Regions from separate parts of the Homo sapiens genome. Here all the other regions are linked to region 1. Evidence: promoter capture Hi-C in 16 types of primary human blood cells and fetal thymus (Javierre and others, 2016). All regions are on one chromosome and are shown on one strand. The core of a region is centred on a gene start or on the middle of the fragment in contact, and the rest is flanking DNA. Distances in the headings are between cores, read along the strand shown. Region 1 holds the start of SLC17A4 (solute carrier family 17 member 4). Region 2 has its middle 91 kb from the start of CARMIL1. Region 3 has its middle 55 kb from the start of CARMIL1. Region 4 has its middle 39 kb from the start of CARMIL1.

The links. The method cuts DNA at HindIII sites, captures the fragments that hold promoters and counts their contacts. A CHiCAGO score of 5 or more calls a contact.
Region 2: a fragment that was not itself captured here is called in contact with the fragment with the promoter of SLC17A4 in region 1 in 2 of 17 cell types (M1 macrophages and megakaryocytes); the score reaches 6.9 in M1 macrophages.
Region 3: a fragment that was not itself captured here is called in contact with the fragment with the promoter of SLC17A4 in region 1 in 5 of 17 cell types (megakaryocytes, erythroblasts, M2 macrophages and 2 more); the score reaches 9.3 in megakaryocytes.
Region 4: a contact is called between a fragment that was not itself captured here and the fragment with the promoter of SLC17A4 in region 1, in 5 of 17 cell types (megakaryocytes, M1 macrophages, erythroblasts and 2 more). The highest score is 9.2, in megakaryocytes.

What each region holds. Positions count from the first base shown.
Region 1 is chr6:25,751,634-25,757,132 of GRCh38, reverse strand. It overlaps SLC17A4 (solute carrier family 17 member 4), which reads right to left and starts at 2,391. Exons shown (of 12, transcript NM_005495.3): 1 at 2,352-2,391. It also overlaps a transcript of SLC17A1 not described here. The HindIII fragment of the contact is 7,086 bases long and covers 1-4,120 here.
Region 2 is chr6:25,185,438-25,190,936 of GRCh38, reverse strand. No RefSeq gene overlaps it. Among named protein-coding and RNA genes, the nearest start is that of CARMIL1, 91 kb to the left of the region's middle. The HindIII fragment of the contact is 1,483 bases long and covers 2,211-3,693 here.
Region 3 is chr6:25,221,468-25,226,966 of GRCh38, reverse strand. No RefSeq gene overlaps it. Among named protein-coding and RNA genes, the nearest start is that of CARMIL1, 55 kb to the left of the region's middle. The HindIII fragment of the contact is 1,739 bases long and covers 1,764-3,502 here.
Region 4 is chr6:25,237,774-25,243,272 of GRCh38, reverse strand. No RefSeq gene overlaps it. Among named protein-coding and RNA genes, the nearest start is that of CARMIL1, 39 kb to the left of the region's middle. The HindIII fragment of the contact is 2,247 bases long and covers 1,604-3,850 here.

The sequences.
Region 1 (5,499 bases), core at 1,142-3,641:
ACCATGGAACCCTCTAGTCTGCACTGGAATTCGAAAACACACTCAAAATTGAATTGAAATCCAAACAAATACTCATTGGCAAATGGAATGGTTCTGGTAATTCTGAAAAGAAACTTGGTAAAATGAGGGGACTGAATAGTCTGCTGGAAAAATAATTTGCTTATCATTTATTTTCACACCTCAGGGCAATTAGTTGAATTGAAAAAATCATATCAGTCACAAGAACTAAAGACATAGCTTTCAGGGCAACATTTTTTTCCACAAGCTATACCCACACAGACTCTTCGAGTGTTCCAATGTCTAAGAGTTCACTGGCCGCAAGTTCATTCATTGATTCAGTAAATATTTATTGAATCAATGAATGCAATGTTGTGCTTTCATAGCTCCATCTCCTGCATGACTGAAGAACTTAGTTCTCATTAAATTGCCCTCTCCTTTTACTTATTATAACCAGAAATCAATTGCCAGTTTTTTCAGTAACAGGCGATAATGGTTTTGCTGGCGTTAATGAGAGCAGTGGGAACAGACAGCCGAGGGTGAAGGGAGGACAGTGCTGTTGTGGGGACAGCGTGATGCAGGCACAGACAGTACACCTGCGAGAAAGTTACATCCCAGGAGGGGCACATATGAAAAGAAAGAAGTAAGAATGCCACATGGTATGAAAAAAACAAGAGTAGCATTGACAGCAACTAGGTCATTAGCATCAGGAGAGGAGGGCAAGCACTCTGCCTAGTCTAACCACTTACCTAGTGTGGTTGTGTGAAATGGTTATATTTGAGCTGAAACGGGAACACTGAGAAGGAGACAGCGCTGAGCAAGAACAATTCCAGGCAGAGGAACCAGCAAGTTTGTCACGTTTTTCTAGGCAGAAGGTAGTCCAACATGGCGATGCAGAGTGAATGAGGAGGTTAATGGTAGGAGATGAGATCAAAGGGGTGGGCAGGATGGTCTCGATCTCCCAAAATGGCCAGACCATTTTGGGTCCTATAGGCCTGGTAAGGGGACTGGATCTACTATGGCCACTGTGTGGCACATGGGCTGTAAAGGACAAGATTGAGAACCAAGAGACTGAACAAGAAGTTGTTTCTTCACCTGTACAAGTGTTGATGGTGGATGGGCTAGGCTAGTTGTGGTGAAAAAGACCACATTCAGGACCTGTTTTGGAGATATGCCACTAAGACTTGCTAATGAGGTGTATATGGGAATGAGAGAAAGGGAAGAATCATCAGAGACTTCTAGACTTACGGCTTGAGCAAATGAGTGAATAGTGTTGCACTCAAAGAAGTTGGCGAAATGAGCAGGGAGGGCAACAGGTTCCAGAGGAAAAGCAAGAACTTTATTTTGGACACTTGGGGTTGAGACTCCTGTTAGACCCAGAAGGGAAGATTGACAGGTAAGTTTTGTGTCTGTGAGTCCATAGCTAAGAACAGAAGGGCCTTTGTAGAAATATAAATGTGTGAGTCATCAGCCTTATCTATTTATTTTGAAACCAGGTAAATGAGGAAAAAACAGCAAAGAAATGGAGCCAGCCATTCTTATATCAATTTCTCATCAGTTTTTCTTGCCAAGACTGCTTGTGTCTGTTCTTTTTGGATTCATATGCACCCTGTTCCTCTGCTAGTTATCAGTCCACTGTAGAATGAGACTTTTCCTTAAGGTGCTGGGCAGAGCTATTAACAGCTCAAATGTCATCTTAGGTGGTCTCAGCACTGAACATTTTTCCTCCTTATGAGAAACAGCCCATGGCTCTTATTCACAGTTTGCAAATAAAGTCCTCTGCCCTAAACTCTTCATCATTAACTACTTCCCAAAGCCATATTAGATTTCATTTATTTTGCTTTCCCATAAATTCGCTGGAACCAAACCAGAACCGTTTGGTTTTCATTAATTTTTTAGGCATGATGAAAATCTTCCTCTCTGAGAATTCAGTATTGGCATTTATTGTCTCACTGTGGATTTGATCAATGCTTAAAAAAATTAATGTACTTCACAAAAACAATCCAAATATATCATTTAGTTTCTGTCTCTTCCTCTCTCTCTTTCTTCCTCTGTGTGTGTGTGTGTGTGTGTGTGTGTGTGTGTGTATGTGTGTGTGTCTGTCTGTCTGTCTCTGTTCAGCTATACTTTTAGAAAATTTCATTCTCTTGAATTAATTCCCTGTAGTTCCAGGGCTCTTAATGCAACATCCCTTCTCACTTACCAGAATTATCTCAGGACACAGGCATTCTCTTCTCCACTCCCACAATCTCTGCCCCTAAACAGCAAATTAAGCTGCTCTCTAACAGAAACAGACCCATTCCCATCATCTCAAAAGCAGAATATTAAGGGTAAAAGTTTGAAAGCTAACTAACCTGAGGGAGGAAGAGTGCAGGATCCTCATTCCTTTCAAATAAATATTCTAAGCTCTTTGCAATTGTCTAATTCTGGGAGGTAAATAATTACCCAAAACCTTTAGCCCTTATGTTACCAGCTTGGAGAATTTTATTGGCCCAGTGGTTTAATTTTTAACTTTACATTTTATTGTTTGATTGATAATCAAATCAAGCTCATTAAATCTTCCTCATGCTTCAAGCCCAGCTGAGGTCACCTATGTCTTCCCTCATCCTTAATCAGAATCAATGTCCCTTCTTATAAGGATCCTGACACCCCACATGTTTCACTGACAGCACTATCCCCTTCTGGGGTCTCTCAGAGTTATTATAATCTTCATGGAGATGGGGTATATTTTGCCCCTTTTGAGTCCCTTTTCCACCATCCTGCTGTTTAATAGAACTGAGCTTTCCAAAGAGGAGAGACTTAATACATTTTGGTCGACTTGAGTGATTTTTATGGTTTTCTGATTGTAATTTTTTGCACAAAGGCCATTGAGTTTTCCATGAAAATTAACTCTGTGATTCTCCTCCCTTTTATGGCAAAACATTTCAGAAGACTCATACATATTTGCATTCTGGTTCCCCACCTCTAGTTTTCTCATGAATCCATCAGCAACAAGACAGCCCTTAGCAAAGCCATCACCAGCCTCTCTGCCAGCAAATCCAGTGGTCACATCCCAGGCCCCATCTGTCAGTGCTTGACAGATTCCACCACTCGTTCCTTCTTGATGCCTTGTTTCATTTAATTCATTCAGATCTGATTTTCCTCGTGTCTCATTGGTTGTTCCTTGTCAATACGTTTTGCTGAATCCTTATCTTTTCTCTGGTTTCTAATGTTGATATGCCTAAGACTCTGTCCTTGAACTTCCTCCCTATCTAAACTCACTCCCAAGGAGATCTCAGCCAGTCCCCTTTCCTTTCACACCCAATTCTGACCTCTTCTCTGAGCTTCGACTTCAACTTCATCCATCTCTCCTTGAGTACCCATTAGGTATCTCAGTCTTATGACTGCAAGCAGAACTGAATCTCCCTCCAACCCTACTCCTGGCCCAGGATCCCCCATCTTGGTTAATGGCATTACCATTTCCCTGTTAATCTTGCCAAAAAAAAGTCAGCCTTCATTCTATACTTTCCATCAACATTAATTCCAACAGTATGTTCTATCAGTTCCACCTTCATCTCTTTCCATTATTTTTTATTTTCTCCATTCCTATCACAATCATCTATCACCAGGGTAAATAAAATGATTATTTACCGGGCCCCACTGTTTCCATTCTCTCTCTTTTAATCCACCCCACATAGCAGGCAGAATGTTGGAAATGTACATATGATCATGTTACTTACTGGTGTAAAAGTCTTCCAAAGCCTTCCCAGAGAACCTAGGAGAAAAGAGAGCAAATTCACCTTCCTGAAGGTGCTCCAACACCTTACATCACCTTGGACACACCAACCTTACTGACCTCTGCCCTGCTGTCCTTCCCTCACTAAATTCCAACTAGTTCTGCCTTGTCCATGAAGTTCAAGGCCTTTACACTTGCAGTTCCTCCTGTCAGTGATGCCCAATTCCCCAAGATGATTGCCAAGTGTTTTACCAATGTTGTTAGAAAAGTAAAACACTTGAAAATAGATTTTCCAAGAAGCCTCTAATATGGTCTTGATTTTGTGTCAGCCTAGGCTAACTTGCATATTTGTGTCTTAGTTTTAATAAATCTTTTTTAATTTTTAAAAATTAAAAATAGATCAAAGCTTATAGAATAAGGGTATAAAGAAAATGTTTGGTGTTTTTTTTTTGTTTTTTTTTGTTTTTTTGAGACGGAGTCTCAGACTGTTGCCCAGGCTGGACTGCAGTGGCGTGATCTCGGCTCACTGCAAGCTCTGTCTCCCGGGTTCACGCCATTCTCCTGCCTCAGCCTCCCGAGTAGCTGGGACTACAGGCGCCTGCCACCACGCCCAGCTAATTTTTTGTATTTTTAGTAGAGACGGGGTTTCACTGTGTTAGCCAGGATGGTCTCGATCTCCTGACCTTGTGATCCGCCCACCTCAGCCTCGCAAAGTGCTGGGATTACAGGCGTGAGCCACCGCACCCGGCCTAAAGAAAATATTTTTGTACAGCAGTACAATATGTTTGTGTTTTAAGCTGTGATTACCAGAGTCAAAAAGTTTAAAAACATTTAAAAGTTTATAAAGTCAAAATGAAATAGTAAGCTAGAATTTATTATTGAAGAAATAAAATTTTTTTATAAACTTAGTGTAGCTTAAGTGCACAGTGTTTACAAAGTCTACAGCAGTGTACAGGCATGTCCTGGGCCTTCACATTCACTCACTGCCTCACCCAGAGTAACTTCCAGTCTCACAAGCTCCATTTATGATAAGTCTCCTAGACATACCATTTTTTATCTTTTTACTGTACCTTTTCTATGTTTAGATATGTTCAGATTCTCAGATATCACTGTTTTAATTGCCTGCAATATTCAGTATAGTAACATGTGGTACAGGTTTGTAGCCTAGGAGCAATGGGCTAGACCACATAACCTAGGTGTATAGCAAGCTCTACCATCTAGGTTTGTGTAACTGCACTCTATGGTATCCACACAACAAAACTGCCGCACAGCACATTTCTCAGAATGTATTCCTATGGTTAAGCGTCGCGTGTTTGTATTATAGCAAATATACAGCACATGCTCTGTGGGGAGAAGAAGCAGTAGATGAGTTTCTGTGGCCAGCATTATTAATTGGCTAAGCAAAACCACATTTCCAAATTTCTGTGCCCTAGCTTGTATCTACTATAAGGCATATAGGAACAAAAACTTCATTTCTGTGGCTTCCTTGAAACAAATGGGGCCTACACATTTCTGGCCATTGATGCATAAAAAGAAGTAGGCCTGTGTCTCATCTTTTTTTTTCTTTTTTCTTTTTCCTTCTGCCGTAACAGTGGATATCAGGTCTTGAGGTATGGCAAGTACCTGAGGCTCATTAGACAACAGCAAGATGAAAGCCAATAAACTGATGATGGCTCTATCAGTCAGGATAAGCTAAGTTACACTGGGATAACAAATGACCCAAAAATCTCAGTTGCTTATAATAACAAAGTTTTATGTGCTGTTCACAATTCATGACCATCGTGTCT
Region 2 (5,499 bases), core at 1,703-4,202, 570 kb after region 1:
TTCTCATAGTTCTGGAGGCTGGGAAGTTCAAGAAAAAGACACTGGCAGGTTTGATACATGGTGAGGACCCAATCTCTGCTTCCAAATTGGCAACTAGTTGCTGCATCCTTTGGAGGGGAAGAACACTGTCCTCACATGGCAGAAGAGCATAGGAGCAAGAGGACTCTCCCTTCAACCTTGAGCCCTTTTAAGTGTGCGAATTCCATTCATGAGGGTAGAGCCCTCATGACTGAATCACCTTCCAAAGGCCACAGCTCTTAATACTTTTGCATGGGGATTAAGTTTCAACATGAGTTTTGGAGGGAATACCATCTTTCAACATAGCAATTGTAAGATTTAAAAAAGTCAAATTCATCAAGGCAGAAAGTAGAGTGATGGTTACCAAAGGCTGGGAGATGGGCGAATTGGGAAGATGTTAGTCAAAGGATACAAAATTTCAGTTGGACAGGAGGAATAAATTCAAGAAATCTATTGTCCATTGTGTTCACTATAGTTAACATATTGTATACTTGAAAATTGCTGAGATCAAATTTTAAGTGTTCTCACCACAAAAAAAGTATGTGAGGTAACATATATGTTAATTAGCTCTATTCAGCCATTCCACAATGTATGCATATATCATAACATCATGTATACTCTAAATATACACACTTTATTTGCCAGTTAAAAAATAGGCTTCTCACTGACCAAAATGGGATGATATGAGCACTAATACAAGTAATGAGTGGATTCAAACTCATCAAATATGTTTAACGCAATGTGTTCATAATGTAACTAAAATTAGAGGGTCCTAGGAAACCAACTCCTTATTTTGAAAAATAATTAAAGAAAAATATTATGTATTCTTTTCTTTGCAAACTGTACAACTGGGTAAGCAAGTTGTAGGTAAAGGGAAATTTATCTTACCAAAGGATTATAGTTAATGTATGAAAAAGAAGTGATGGAGTTTTGCCCTTTTGCAAGCCCCTGATGAAATGATAAATCATAGAATTGAACATTAATGGTTGGTAACATCAAACACAAAAAGACAGAATCTGACATCCTGGTCATCCTGATAAATGCCAAACTACCATTTGGCTGCCTCTAGGGACAGATGTTAGAGATGGAGCAAGAAAGATTTGACTTTACCTTAAATACCCTCTCTTTTTTTTTTTTGAGACAGGGTCTTGAGCTATCGCCCAGGTTAGAGTGCAGTGCTTTTTTCCATGCTAAGTTATTGTATTATTTTTTCTCAATTAAAATTTTGTTTCCATTTGTAAAAATAATACAATATTTTAGGAAATTTATAAAAATACGGGAGATCTTAAAGGTTTAAATATACATCTTAGAAGGAATGACATTCACTGAACTTTTTTTTTCCTAGAGGCCAGGGTAGAAAGCAGGCAATGTAATGAATAATCAATATTTATTAAATGCCCTCTTTGTTTTTGTGACCTCTATCTTCAAATAGGTTACCCCAGCCAGAAGGTTATTTATTCATTCAGTTTAGCTGAGATGGGTGGCAATATAGTATGATAATAAGGGTTTTGCATTCTATTTACTGCAAACCACATAGAAAGCATTCGTAGGGCAACTACTATGTTTGTAGTAAGGTGCTGTAGGGAAGATTATGGTCATAACAACCATTCCTTCAACAAATACTTAAAGTGTGCCTACTAGAAGCCAGCCATCATTGTAAGCACTGTGGATACAGAGGTAAATGTGGCAAAATTCCTTCTCATGTGGAGCTTATGATATACAATGGGACAGCACGGTGCAGTGGCTCATGCCTGTAATCCCAGTACTTTGGGAGGCTGAGGCGGGTGGATCACCTGAGGTTGGGAGTTCAAGATCAGCCTGGGCCAACATAGTGAAACCCCGTCTCTATTAAAAATGCAAAAATTAGCTGGGTGTGTTGGCGTACGTCTGTAATCCTGGTTACTTGGGAGACTGAGGCAAGAGAATCACTTGAACCTGGGAGGCAGAGGCTGCGTTGAGTCGAAGTCATGCCATTGCACTCCAGCCTGGGCAACAAGAGTGAGACTTTGTCTCAAAAAAAAAAAAAATACAGTGGGACAGAGAGATAATACACCCACCTACCACGCACACAATATAATGTCAGATACTGGTTTAAAAAAAAAAAACTGAAGAAAAAACAGAGTATATGGATATAGGGCTGTTATTATCACATACTTAAGCTTATCATGTAGCAAGTGCAGTACTTAGAAGCTTTATATCCATAACCTCATTTAAACCCCACAACCTACATAGAGTAGGAGTCATTATTTCTCTGTTGCAGATGTGGAAAAGAGGCTTTAAGAGGTGAAGTTCATATATCAAGTAAATGGAAGAGGTGTTGTATTTAAGAGCCTCTCCCCCTCTCTTCCCCCAATTCCCTCTAGGTCTCTCTCCTTTTCTCTCTCTCTCCCTCTTCTCCCTCTCAATTTCAAAACTTAAGGTATTATTCAGTATGATGGAGGCACAGTAGAAAGATGGAAGGTCATGTTAATACATAAAGAATGACCTCATTCTCAGTAACAATGGTCTTGTTATATAATCTGTCTGTCTCACTTTCCTCTTCTGCAGGATAATACCCACTACATAAAGTTTTAGGATGACATGAGAAAATATGTATAAATCAGAAGGAACATACCTCTTATCAAAAGTCCTCAGTACGTATTATATTGCTAAATATAATTGATGGGCATGTGGTGAAGAGACTGATAAATAATTGGGAGTTGGGGTACTTTCTAAGAGGTGCAGGTGGGACCTGATACACAAAGCATAAGTATATGGAGTAGATTGGGAGGGGCCTCAGTGTTTGGAGAAGGATTAGGAGGACATCAAAGCAAACCTTTGGTAGACTGTGTGAAGAAAGATAGCACCTTGATATTCAATAAAACTGTTTTCCAAAGTCAACAGCCATGAGTATTGTAGGTTGCTTTTTGGATCAATGAGAAGAATCTCAACTGTTGCTTCAATAGTGGTTCCTCAAATTGCCTGACAATCAAACTTATCTGGGAAACTTCTTACAAAGACACATTCAAAGTTCTGTGTCCTCCAAGGTGGAAATTTCCATGGTAGTATAAAAGGAACAAAACCATTTGTTCACTGCTATAACCCCAAAACCTAGAGCAGTACCTGGCATGTGTAGGATATTCAACTAGTGCTTGTTGACTGAATCTCCTTTATTTTTTCCTCCTTCCTATCTTCCTTTTGTTTTCCCCAAACACATAGGACATTCCCCTAACACATGTGAAATGCTCTGTGACTCTGTCCTGCATCTTCCCAGGGGTGGATTATGTGTGGAGAAAAATGTCACTTTGTCTTTGATGGGATTTAAGGGGGCATGGTCATGCCTGCTTGCTCCAAACTCTTCCTCACTCTGTTTGCTAGCATACCAGCAATGTCCACACGGCAGCTATTCCGTGTTGAGATCATGCATTTCCTGAAAACCCCTACTGCTACTACATAACGCATTGCACTGAGAAGGAGAGTGACTGGGTGAAATCACTTTAACTCTCAGCTTCTCACTCATTTGCGCTGGTTAGGCTATGAGAAGGCTTGCTGCCACTTTGAGTAGCAGAGGGGCCAGGTCCTGAAGGAATGAGACAGGGCAGTATTGATGGGAAAGAGCAGGAAGGAAAAGTCCCAGGGCTTAGGGGTGGCAAGCTAGGAGGAGTACCCAGAAAGATGGCTGGTGTGGAGGAAGCTTTTGGGGGATGGTGGCATTTGATGAGCATGGGAGGTGTTCCCACTTAAGAGAGACTTTTCCTGAGCAACACTTTGAGTCAGGTTGGTAGGGTGTTATTAATGGCTCCAAGTGCTTGGTACATAGTTGACTCACCTGCTGAAACACTTGCTGAGTTAGCGGTTCAATTTCACAGATGTTTTTAAGTCTTGGGTATGCAGAGACTGACCTCTGTGTGACTGTCACAGAGCCTGACATTCCCAGAAGACAGATTCACAAGTTTTCACCCTTTCTAGCACTATGTGAGCTCTGATGATTGTTTCCTCACGTTAATTTAGTGGTTCTTCCCCTGACCTTGGGCATTCTCCCACACACATGCACTGATCAGCACTTAGCTGAATGTTTGAGGGGGACCTTCTGTAGGTCTTCAAGTTTTCCCAGGGCAGCTCTCATGTCTTTGGTGCTCTGCCCTAGGCACTCTAGCCACCTTACTCTCCAGACTCTCAGCTGTCTCCTCAGTTCCAGGATACCTCCACAAAGGTGCCTCTTCCCTGCCCTGTGACCTGAAAAAACTTCCTCCAAATAGTATACTGGGGCAATCATTGGCTCACATCATTTATTTCCTGTTTCTTGGAGATCACCATTCTTCATTGTCTAATTTGTTCTAAGACTCGCTGTTTCACGTATTTGTCTTTTTGTTGTTGTTTCAGAGAGGAGGATAAATCTGGTCTTTCTTACTGCATTTTGGCCAGAAATGGAAATACATGAGTTATTCTTAATGCTTTTGTTTCCTACTCACTTTTGGTTTTAATTTACATTTCTCCAATGACTAATGATGTTGGATACTTTTTTATATGTGCCCACTGGCCATATGTATATCTTTTATGATGAAATGTCTATTCAAATCTTTGGCCTGTTTTTTAAAAACTTGTGTTGCTTATATTTTTATTCTTGAGTTGTAGGAATTCTTTGTATATCTCCCGCCTTTTAAAATATGTAATCAGTTTAGTAATCAATTTATTATACAGATTAGCTCCAGGGAGCAATTAGATTTTTAAATCTATACAAGTATTTCTTTAAATGGATTTTCACCCTTATGTACACTTAGACCTAAGCGATTAAGAGCATAAGAAAAATAAGAGCTAGTTTGGGCAGACACGGAGCTAGCTGCAAGAATGTTTTTTTCATACCCCAGTGGCACTGGAACCACAGCAAGACAGAACTGTTTACTCCCCTGGAAAGGGGGCTGAAGCCAGGGAGCCAAGTGGTCTCACTCAGTGGGTCCCATTCCCATGGAGCCCAGCAAGCTAAGAACCATTGGCTTGAAATTCTCACTGCCAGCACAGCAGTCTGAAGTTGACCTGGGAAGATCGAGCTTGTTGGGAGGAGGGGCATCAGCCATTACTGAGGCTTAAGTAGGCAGTTTTCCCCTGACAGTGCTAAGGAGACCTGGAAGTTCGGACTGCACAGAAATCAACACAGCACAGCAAAGCGGCTGTGGCCACACTGCTTCTCTAGATTCCTCTTCACTGGGCAGGGCATCTCTAAAAGGCAGAAGCCCCAGTCAGGGACTTATAGATAAAGCTCCCATCTTCCCTGCGACAGAGCACCTGGGAGAAGGGGTGGCTGTGGGCACAGCTTCAGCAGACTTAATTCCTACCTGCCGGCTCTGAACAGAGCAGCGAATCTCCCAGCACAGCTCTTGAGCTCTGCTAAGAGACAGACTGCCTCCTCAAGTGGGTCCTGACCCCCATGCCTCCTGACTGGGAGAGACCTCCCAACAGGGGTCAACAGGCATCTCTGCCTATTGCAGGAGAGCTCTGGCTGGC
Region 3 (5,499 bases), core at 1,384-3,883, 530 kb after region 1:
ATATTGGCTTCTGCACTGACAGACATTTTACTTTCATGCTATTCTGATGGTCCTTGCCTAATGACCACAGAGCGTGTGTGTGTGTGTGTGTGTGTGTGTGTGTGTGTGTGTGTGTATGTATGTATGTATGTGTCTGTCTGTCTATCAGTGCTATCTAACAGTTTTCTGCAATGATGGAAATACTTTTTGATTGTCCAATGAAGTAGCCACTAGTCACATGTGGCAACTGAGCACTTGAGTGGTGACTAGTATAAAAGGGAAAATCAAATTTTTAATTTTATTTAATTAATTTATATTTAAACAACCACATGTAGTTATAACAACAGAATATTGGACAACGTGGGGGCTATAGAATGGGTGTAACAATGTTGTATTTCAGTTCTTCTACCAGTTCTTCGGATTCGTTTTCTTGAACAGAGTCCAAGATGGAATATTTTACCATGAATTCTGGGTTGGAATAGGTAGGATTACAGTGAAACTCTAGCATTTAGTCACATGAATAAAAGCTGAATGAGGACAAAGCATTTCAAAGAAGGATCATATGTCTACAGAGAAAGATAATCTGGCCCAATAAACCAGGTAAATTGTGTGTTTTGGAACGCTCTAGTGTATTTTATTGCTAACGCCCATTTAGTGAATGGATTGATTTTCCTGTTAGAATGTAGTGGGAACATAATCTGAATGCCTTTGACTCTGAAGCCTACTGCAGCTAACAAGAACATCATTTGTATTTCATTGGCCCAGACAGATTATGATTAATGGTTGGATGAACACATTTTCAGTTGAATTTATGTAGCACAGTGCTTCCCATAATTTTTTTCCTGTCAAGGAACTATTTTATGTTAAATTACACAAATATAGTTTTATTTTTATAACATTACTTCCTTCTATCTCTGAACACCTGCACCTTCTCTCACAATGTTAACCTCTCTCTTTGTATTGCAATTTGGCTTCTGTATCTACTCTGTTCTTTTTTCCCACCTTCCCCCGCCCCCTGAGACAAAGTCTCACTCTGTGGCCCAGGCTGGAGTGCAGTGGTGCAATCTTGGCTCACTGCAGCCCCGACCTCCCAAGCTCAAGTGATCCTCCCACCTCAGCCTTTGGGTTGCTGGGACCACAGATGCACACCACCATGCCTAGCTAATTTCTTGTATTTTTAGTGGAGACAAGATTTCGCTATTTTGCCCAGGCTGGTCTTGAACTCCTGGGCTCAAGCAATTCTTCTGCCTCAGCTCCCTAAAGTGCTAGGATTGCTGGTGTGAGCCACCATACCCAGCTTGTTTCTTTTATTCTCAGAATATTCTTAATATTCTCAAGAACATTCTTGGCCTCCCTTCCCTGCCATTTATAATGTTTCCTCCCTTGGTTTCTTTATTTTCCTTCATTCACACTCTGATTGCACCATTCAGTTTGACTCAATTGTAGTCAAATTCAACTCACAGGCTTGTTAACCCTAGTTTGGTGAACATCATAAGTCTTTCAGATGCTGGTTGGAAATGCACCTCCTCAATCCCTAACACTGACATTTAAGCAGCAGAAAGAAGAGGAGCAGCCCATGGTGAAGGCAACTGGAAAGGTCAGAGACCCAAGGAGAGATAAGATGAAAGTTATCAGTGGTGCCTAATGAAGAAGAACTGTTCTGTGAGACAAGGACTGAGAATGTTCCTCATGAGGACATCATTGATGACCTTGGTGAGAACAGTCAGCAGAAGTTTGAGAAATTATTGGGAGGTGCTGAAGCTGCCACAAGTACAGACCAAGCTTCTGAGAGAGTTGGATGATGACAGAAGGAGAAAGTGAAAAAGGGCTCAGGGTAGAGAGGCTTTTGTTTAGGATGGGAGAAGCTAGAGCAAGCCAATGTCAGCTGGGGCCTCCCTGGCTCTGTGAGATGTTGGTCCATCTTTGTAAACCTGGTCCAAAGCCACAGTCCAAGATTCCTTTTATGATTTCCCTAAATTTCTGAGGCTTGCTCCCTCATGCTTCTCTTTGTGTCCCCTGCCACATCTGTACCTGTGGTTTCAGATCCATCTTGTGGCACCACAGTGCGAATCTCAGCCTTCTCGCCAGTTTCTACACAAACACTCATGTTAATGGTAATCTATTGAGTTAACAATTTAACAAGGAACTTTAAGGTAGTTTGGAGGTGCTCCTGGAGAGGGGTTATACGCCCAACCACACTGCCCTCTGCCATCCTGCTGGCTCCTCCTCCGTTTTTCCCAACTTCCTCCTCCTTTAGAGCAAGGAATTACTTTTCTTGTCTAGAACTGAGTGATCAACCCAGAGTCAAGGTCTCGCCTTCAACCTCAATGGGCTTATCCATGAATTTTTCTAAGAAATCTCCAAAAGGAATTTTCATGCCATTTGCTAAGAGAATTCGATTCTCCTCTAATATGTCCTCTTGTCATATTAGCATTCGGGGGTGGGGGCGGGGCAAACAGTTTATGTAGACACAGAAATTGATGCATGTGGTGAAATGCTGGGAGACACCTGGAGGGGAGAGGAGGGCAGCTGTTCTATTTCTTGTGATTGGTGGGACAGGAAGCAAGAATGAGTGAAAATGAAGATAAACCTGTATGGGGGCAGGATGTGTATGGGGGTGGGATGGAAGAGTGAAGATTTGAGGGTTTGTGGGCTCAGTAGTCTCTGTGGGGGCAAGATCACTTGCTGACAGGGGATGGACAGAACTGAAGGTATGAGATTCTCGCTATAGAGAGGAGTGAGGGAAGGAGAAGGGATGAGGGGAGAGATGCTGTTTTTAGATAAGGAGAAGTATTGACAAGATGAATGGAGTATTCTTCTGAAATCGGAAAGTATACCTTTGTGAAGATACCAGTTCCCACGGTTGTACTTCTCTCTAGAAGCCCCAAATCACTAAGATATAGAAGCAGAGAAGGGGGATTTCAGGATTAATCTGGGGTTGGAGCTTGCAGAGCAGGACAGTGTGAGTTCTAGTGCTTTATTCTGAAGTCCTGGTGAAAAAGGGAAAATTGAGTAGGAAGAAGCCTGCCCATTAGCACTGGGTTGACATTCAGCTCCACTCTGGACCATGTTACCTTGGTGATAATGAAAGTGGAAGGAGGGATGCTTTTCTGCCAATTTTATCTAAGCGTCTTGGGCAGTTTTAATTTAAACGTATGATACTACCTCCATTTTTTCCTGGTATGATTCCTTTCATTTAATTAGGCTCTATTGGTGGAAAGTAGTTGATCTTTGATGACGTTGTTATCTCCTGAACATTATTATATCTCCCGCTCTGGTTTACAGGTTTTTCCTGACTCTTCTCTTCTGCATTACAGCTCAGGACTGCCACCCAGTGGCCTGTTAGCATAGAGCTCTGGAAATGCTGATTTTTTTCTTTAATACAGCCACAGAATAAGACAATAAGAAAATATTTGCTTCCTTGTTGGGGAAAGTAAAATGCAGAACTTCCTATTTACCAGCCAAACAAAAGAAGAATGCATTCTCTCAGGACCTCAGGGACTGTCAGAAAATAAGAAAAGCTTTTTTGACCTTAGTAACCTTTGACATGGTTCTCTGAGACCAAGTGTGTTTAGCCAGGAATTTATACTAAACAGGGAATGGAATGAAAGCAGGATCAGGATTTTGAAGAAAAATACCTCTCAAATTGGGGAGAGTTAGGCAAAGAGATTCTGAATGTAAAGTCATTTGGGGAAGACATAGGCCCTTGGATAAAGCATACTTTTTTTGTTTTCCTATTTTACTTTCTTCCTCACCCTTTAACACATGGAAGATGGGTCCCTGTGTCCTCCAGGTCTGATAGGAGTTGTCAGACTGCCGTTGTTTGAGTTACTTTATTTATTTGGAATTTCTGGATGTGAGAAGCTATGGAAGCCAAGTTCAGATTCAGCCATTCTAATTCTCTTATAAGATATCCTCTGTGAAACAGTGGTGTACATTTCAGTTTTGTTTTTGTAAAAATTGAGTATCAAAATTTTAAAATCCTACATGTTTTATTATCAAAAGATCACTTACAGGCATAAACTCTAGTATAATTTTTAATTTTTTGAATTGTAGATTGTCTTTTTCTTTTTTATCATAGACACTCTGAAAGCTAATTGGGATGACAGAGAAGAAAAAGAGAAAAGAAAGAATCTCGAATAAGAGGCCCAGTGGCCTCACTAGAAGGATGAGAAGATAAGACTTGCTCTAGAGGAGGAAAAATGGCAGCTTCCTTGCCCACTAAGGGGAGACACAGAGACCCTTGAATGCAATGTAGAGTGTCCTTCCTTAGCCCTTATAGCGGTTCTTCAAAGTTGCAACTGTTCCTACAAATGTTATTTACAGCCTGGGACTTCATTAAGCCAGAATATTTCCCTGAACACTACTAGAGATGTGCTCTGTAATATTAGCAAGGTCTTGCTGATACCAAGGGAGGGAAAGTAGGTGAATATCTGTGCATGGCTCTGGAGGCATACCTAGGGCAGTGTGGGTGGAGTGCCAGGCTCTGTTAAGGATTCCCAGTGGGTCAGCCACAAGCATATGGAGTGATGGCTCCTGAACAAAGACTGGGCAGAAAAGTGGGCAGAAGGGAATGCCAGAAATTGGAGACAGAGATAAGATACTAAACACAAACTTTTCCACTTCCTAATTTTGTCTAAGATAAGAAGATTCTAAAAACAAACTTTTCCACTTTCTCATTTTGTCTAAGTCCAGCCCTGCTTGCATCCAATGGAAGATAAAAGATTAAAACTAGAGATTATTTTCAACAAGCATGAATTGAGGACCTACTATAATTGGTTTATTGAGCAATCTTGCTTCACTGGACAATGAAAGTAGGAAGACATTATTTTTTCCTGTCATTGCTTTTACCTGGGCTCTGCAAAATATCCTTTTCCTGACACTTAATGAAATCTTGGGGAGATTTAATAATGTCAGGATCAGTTTGGTTATTAAACATCATTTTGTTTAAAACTCCAATCATATCCTATTCAAGTTTCAAATATTACCTTACCTCACTCCTGCTCCAGGTACTAGGTCACAAAGAAAGTCTTTAAAGTCAAAATGTTTAAGAATCTAAGTTATATGAACCATATTATCTGGCTATATTGTAATAATCATATAAGAAATAAGAGACTTAACTTACCTATACTGTTATAGGTTAAAAAAAATTGTGAGTCATTTACATTAACAGTGAAGAAGGGAAACATTGATATTTTCTTTTCATAAAAACACCACACTACTTCTTTTAGCATCTGAGATAGAAACAGAAGCTAATAAATAGGGAAAGAGTTTTTGATTTTTAACTTTGTATTTGATATACTAAAATAGCAGCCCATAAGTTCAAACCCCATGTGTTTCATTTTTATTCTGATATAATAATTTGAATAGAGAAAATTCTTAAAGTATCTTAAATGCTCATTTTTCCCTCAAATATCTCATATAACATGGTGCTCAGAATAAGGTGAAATGCAATATGTTGCTGTTTGTAGCAGCACGGTTTCTATTTTAATGGCTGATGATTTAAAATTTTATTTTAAA
Region 4 (5,499 bases), core at 1,478-3,977, 510 kb after region 1:
AGTAAAGATAAAAAAATAAATAAATACCACCATCTCAATAATTATATCTGTCTCAGGGGTCCCATAATCACCCACTAGTTGGGTGATTCACTGGAGGACTCACCACAACTTAGCATGAAGTTAAACCGGATAGCTGAAGTTTATCATAGCACAAGATAACAGAGCAGGAACAGCAGGAAAAATATATACCTAGGCAAAGGCTAGAGAGATCATGTGCAGGTTCCTGAGTCCTCCCTTTCTAAGATTATCACACTGGTGTAATCCTCTCTCCAGCTTCAAATTGTAAAGACATATACAAGATTTCCATATTCAGGAAAGCCCATTTGGGGCTTGGAGTCCAAGATTCTTGAAGAGAGCGTGTCACATTAATACATAACTGCCACATCAGTAGCCATTGTGCATACCCCAAAGCAGGTACCAGGTGCACATCATGAATCTTCATGTTTACTTTAAATCTGCTGACCACCTGGTTCATATTGACCTACTGGATTGGGTGTATAGAATGACATCATTACCTAGTACGAGGTAAACATTACAGTACTTTAGTTCTTAGCATTAGACCAAGAGTCACTGTTATAGCTACAGAAATAAGCAAGAAGTAAATAAAAATAATCTGCTGTGTTAACTTTCTTTGTAGCATTAAATATTGTTTGTTTTTGTTTGTTTGTTTGTTTGTGAGACAGGGTCTCACTCTGTGGCCCAGGCTGGAGTGCAGTGACATGATCTTGGCTCACCGCAACCTCTGCTGCCCAGGCTCAGGTGATTCTCCCATCTCAGCCTTCTGGGTAGCTAGGACTACAGGTGCATCCTACCATGCCCAGCTAATTTTTGTATTTGTAGTAGAGATGGGGTTTCACCATGTTGCCCATGCTGGTCTAAAATTCCTGGGCTCAAGCGATCTGCCTGCCTCAGCCTCCCAAAGTGTTGGGTTTGCAGGTGTGAGCCACCATGCCTGGCCTTTGCTGCATTACATGTAAATGAACTAAACAACCAAAAGGCAGAGATTATTGTAAGACTGAATTAAAAAAAAATCAAGAACCAATTATAAGGTGTCTACAAGAGATGCATTTTAAATGCAAAGACACAAATAGATTAAAAGTAAAAGGATAGAAAAATATGTAGCATGGAAAACTGGAGAAAACTGGAGTGATTTTATTAAGATTAAACAAAATAGACTTCAATAAAGAAGTATTACTAGAGACAAAGACAAATACTTCATACTAATAAAAAAGTCAAATACATCAGTAAAATGGAGCAATTATAAACGTATATGTGCCTAATTAACAGAGCTTCAAAATGTGTGAAGCAAACATCTGACAGAACTAAAGACAGAAATAGACAAATCCACAATCATTGTTGGAAACTTAAACATACTTCTCAATAATGAACAGAACAACTAAGCAAAAAGTCAGTAACAATGAATGAAAGTAAAAGATCTCCTCTTCTTATACTTTCCTTAGTCTCTTCCTAAACCAAGAAGTTCTTACAAGGTATTGTTTCTGGAGAAGGCCAGAACCATTTGTCTTCTTCTGTGCTTCCAAGGCCATATCCACGTCTGAGATCCTGCAGTAGTTTTATTTTCAGTTGCAAGTAACCAAAAGCTTAATTCAAACTTCCTTATACAATAGAGGGAAATTATTCTTTTAGGTACAGATCAATCAGGGTTAAATTTCTCTTTAATTTTGCCTCTTGTGTGTTGGATTTATTTATTTATTTATTTTTTTAGACAAGTCTTGCTTTGTCACCCAGGCTAGTGTGCAGTGGTGCAGTCGCAGCTCACTGTAACCTCTGCCTCCGGGGATCAAGTGATTCTCCTGCCTCAGCCTCCCAAGTAGCTGAGATTACAGGTGTGCACCACCACGCCCGACTAATTTTTGTATTTTTAGTAGATACAGGGTTTTACCATGTTGACTAGGCTTGTCTCAAACTTCTGACCTCAGGTGATTTGCCTGCCTCAGCCTCCCAAAGTGCTGGGATTACAGGTGTGAGCCACTGGGCCTGCCCAATTTCTTCTTTTTTGTTTGCTTTTTCTTTTTTCTTTTGAGACAAGGTCTTGCTCTGTCACCCAGGCTGGAGTGCAGTGGCATGATCTTGGCTCACTACAACCTCCATCTCCCAGGTTCAGGCAATTCTCATGCCTCAGCCTCCTAAGTAACTGGCACTGCAGGCATACACCAACACGCCTGGCTAATTTTTTTGTATTTTTAGTAGAGATGGGATTTTGCCATGTTGGCCAGTCTGGTCTTGAACTCCTGGCCTTTAGTAATCTCCCTGCCTTGGTCTCCCAAAGTGTTGAGATTAGAGGCATGAGCCACAGTGCCTGGCAATTCTTCAAAAACATTTTTTTGTATTGTAAAGTCAGAGAAAATGTGTTCGATTCATTCTGAGGTGAACATACTATATGGTGGCAAAGTGAGGATAGCAGTTCTCCCTTCACATCCACATCCCACACTACACAGAAAGAAAGAAACATGTGTTCCAGAATTGTCAGCAAAAATCCTGAAATTCGCACTTGACTTAGACCACAGACCCATGACTGATCTAATCACTGCAATGAGGGCAATAAGACTTTCTTGGGCGCAGTACATGTCATTCATTTTATCCCTGAAATAATGGGATAGTTGGGGGTAGAGTAACAATAAATTTCCAATAGAAGTGTAGACTGTTGGGAAAGGTTAAGTGGGACATGGATACCAGAGCGTTAACCAACAGGCGAACAACAGGTGAATAATACTGTGTTTAACATGGTCTCTCTCTGTCTCGCACACACACACACACACACACACACAGAGCAATGAGCAGTAACTAGCCAAACAAATGAAACATTAATCATATACAGCATATGTTAGAGCAATATACTCATATAGAAAACAGGAATTTCATTAAATTACAAAACTGTTGTTTGATAAACTAGCGAGGATAAATAATACATAATATTGTGATAGTTTTTCTTTTATCTTTCCTGTAGAAAGTTATGTATGAAAAAAGAACACTGACTTTCTCTTGTACTTTAAGTCTTTAGCATTTGGGAAATTTCCTATTATTCTCAAGTATAGTCACACTACATCAGATTTCAAGCCAAGACTTAATTTTTTAAAATGTTCTAAGAGGCATGGTGGCTTATGCCTATAATCCTAGCACTTTGGGAGTCCGAGATGGATGGATCACTTGAGGTCAGGAGTTTGAGACCAGCCTGGCCAATATGATGAAACCCCAGCTCTACTAAAAATACAAAAATTAGCCAGGTGTGGTAACACATGCTAATCCCAGCTCCTCAGGAAGCTGACTTGGGAGGATCCCTTGAGCCGGGGAGGGGGTTTTGCAGTGAGCCGAGATTGCGCTACTACACTCCAGCTTGGGCAAAAGAGTAAGACCCTGTCTTAAAAAAGTAAATAAATAAAATAAAATGTTCTAAGAGTGTTTCATGCTCATGACTGCATAAGCATTACTGAACCTGGCATTCTGCTCTTGTCTCCTTCATTGTTAGATTAATGTTCACATAAAAACATTTCCATAATTATACCAATAAAGGGTTAGACACCCTCTGTGAGTATAAAAGGAAAATTAAGACATAAAGAAAATATGTGGTAAAGAGGAAAGGGCCAGGTTGAGCAATGGGTGATAAGTGCAAGATAAAACTCATTGAATATAAAAGTTAGAATTACTGAGCTCGAAAGGATCCCAAGAGGTCATCTGATCCAGTCTGCCTTCTAAGCAACAGCACACTTTAAAATTACTGAAAACTAACAGTTAATTGTATTCTGTGTAGCACTTTTTTTTTTTTGGCTTTTGAAAAATTGATCAAACAGTAGGGATAAAGAAAACCCTAATTAATTCTTAATTCAAAGCTTACTGTATTTTGTGGTTCTAAAATATTTTGAAAAGGTTTTAAAATGTCAAATCCCTGCCAGATAGAAAGCAGATATTCCAAAATAAATATTTTACTGTTTTCTCTGCCAGTGTGATATGAGACAATAATTTATTACCAGGAAAGCTAAGGGAGGCCCTTGGAACCAGCATCAAAGTAATAATCCTGTTTCTCTGAGACTTTTGGCAGACAGTTTGTTCTTTAGTTTTCCTAGAGATTGTTAAGCACACAATTCAACCAAAACACTGACAATTCAAATTAATTATATTTATCAACAACTGTCACATACTTTAGGAAAGTATATTACTCTTCTGCATATCCTATTGATCTGTTAACATAATTTTGCACAACACTATTTGCTCTAGCAACTCAATTTCTGCTACTAAACGTTTATTCTGAAGAAATAATCATAGATGCAAGCAAAGATTTATATACAGTTGTTTATTAAAACATTTTTGACCAAGCGTGGTGACCCATGCCTGTAATCCCAGCACTTTGGGAGGCTGAGGCAGGTGGATTGCTTGAGCCCAGGAGTTTGAGACCAGCCTAGGCACGTGGTGAAATCCTATCTCTACTAAAAATATTTTGAAAAATGTATCTGGGAATGGTGGCATGTGCCTGTAGTCCCAGCTACTTGGAGATTGCTTGAGCCTGGGAGGTGGAGGTTGCAGTGAGCCTAGATCACACCACTGCACTCAGGCCTGAGTGATGGAGCAAGACCCTGTCTCAGAAAAAAATAAAATAAAATAACCCAACCCCCCCCCCACATCATTTGTAATGTCCAAAATTAGAAACCACTTAAATACCCGACAATAGAAAATTGGTTAAATAAATTATGGTGTGTCTATACAACAAAATACTACATAGCCATTAAAATTATGTTATCAAATATCCAAGGTGATGGGAAAATGTTTATGATGTGTCATTGGGAAAAAATTCAAAACATAAGCAGTATGTATAGCATGATCCCATTTCTGAAAACAGACAATATGATTGAAAGGAAATATACCAAAATATTAGATAGAGTTAAACCTGGGTGGCAGAAGTTTAATTTAATTAAAAAATGCAATACATGATTGCATTTTTCTCTTTCTCCTGTATCATATTTATTATAGTGATTATATGTCACTTTGATAGAAAAAAATTCTATATTTTTAATGCTGTACCTTTTAGTTTTAGGACACAAATAGTTAAAATAGTCACAGTTTCTATATATTTTGAAGGATGTACATAGATACATATATTTATATTTCTTTCTCAGTCTACACATAAGTAGACTGGCCACCATTACCAAAAATTGTTATATACATTATTTAGAAGTAGTTATATGTGCTGGTGCTTGTATTTCTAATTATTCTTTCAATATTTTTTCACTATAGTAATGTTTTTCATTTTTCAGTAGTGCTTTGAGATGCTTTAACATTGTTTTTCTATTAGATGTGGTGTTGCTACAGGTATCAATTCATTCTGAGAGAGAAATACTTTCTACCCAGCTTGTCTTCTATAACATTATAGGCCTCCTTGGCACGACTCATCAATTCCTTACTATGACTCGAACTCAAAGATCATTTTAGGAGATTTCATTTAAAAAAAGTCTTTACCCTGGATACAATAATTGTGTTGACTCCAAT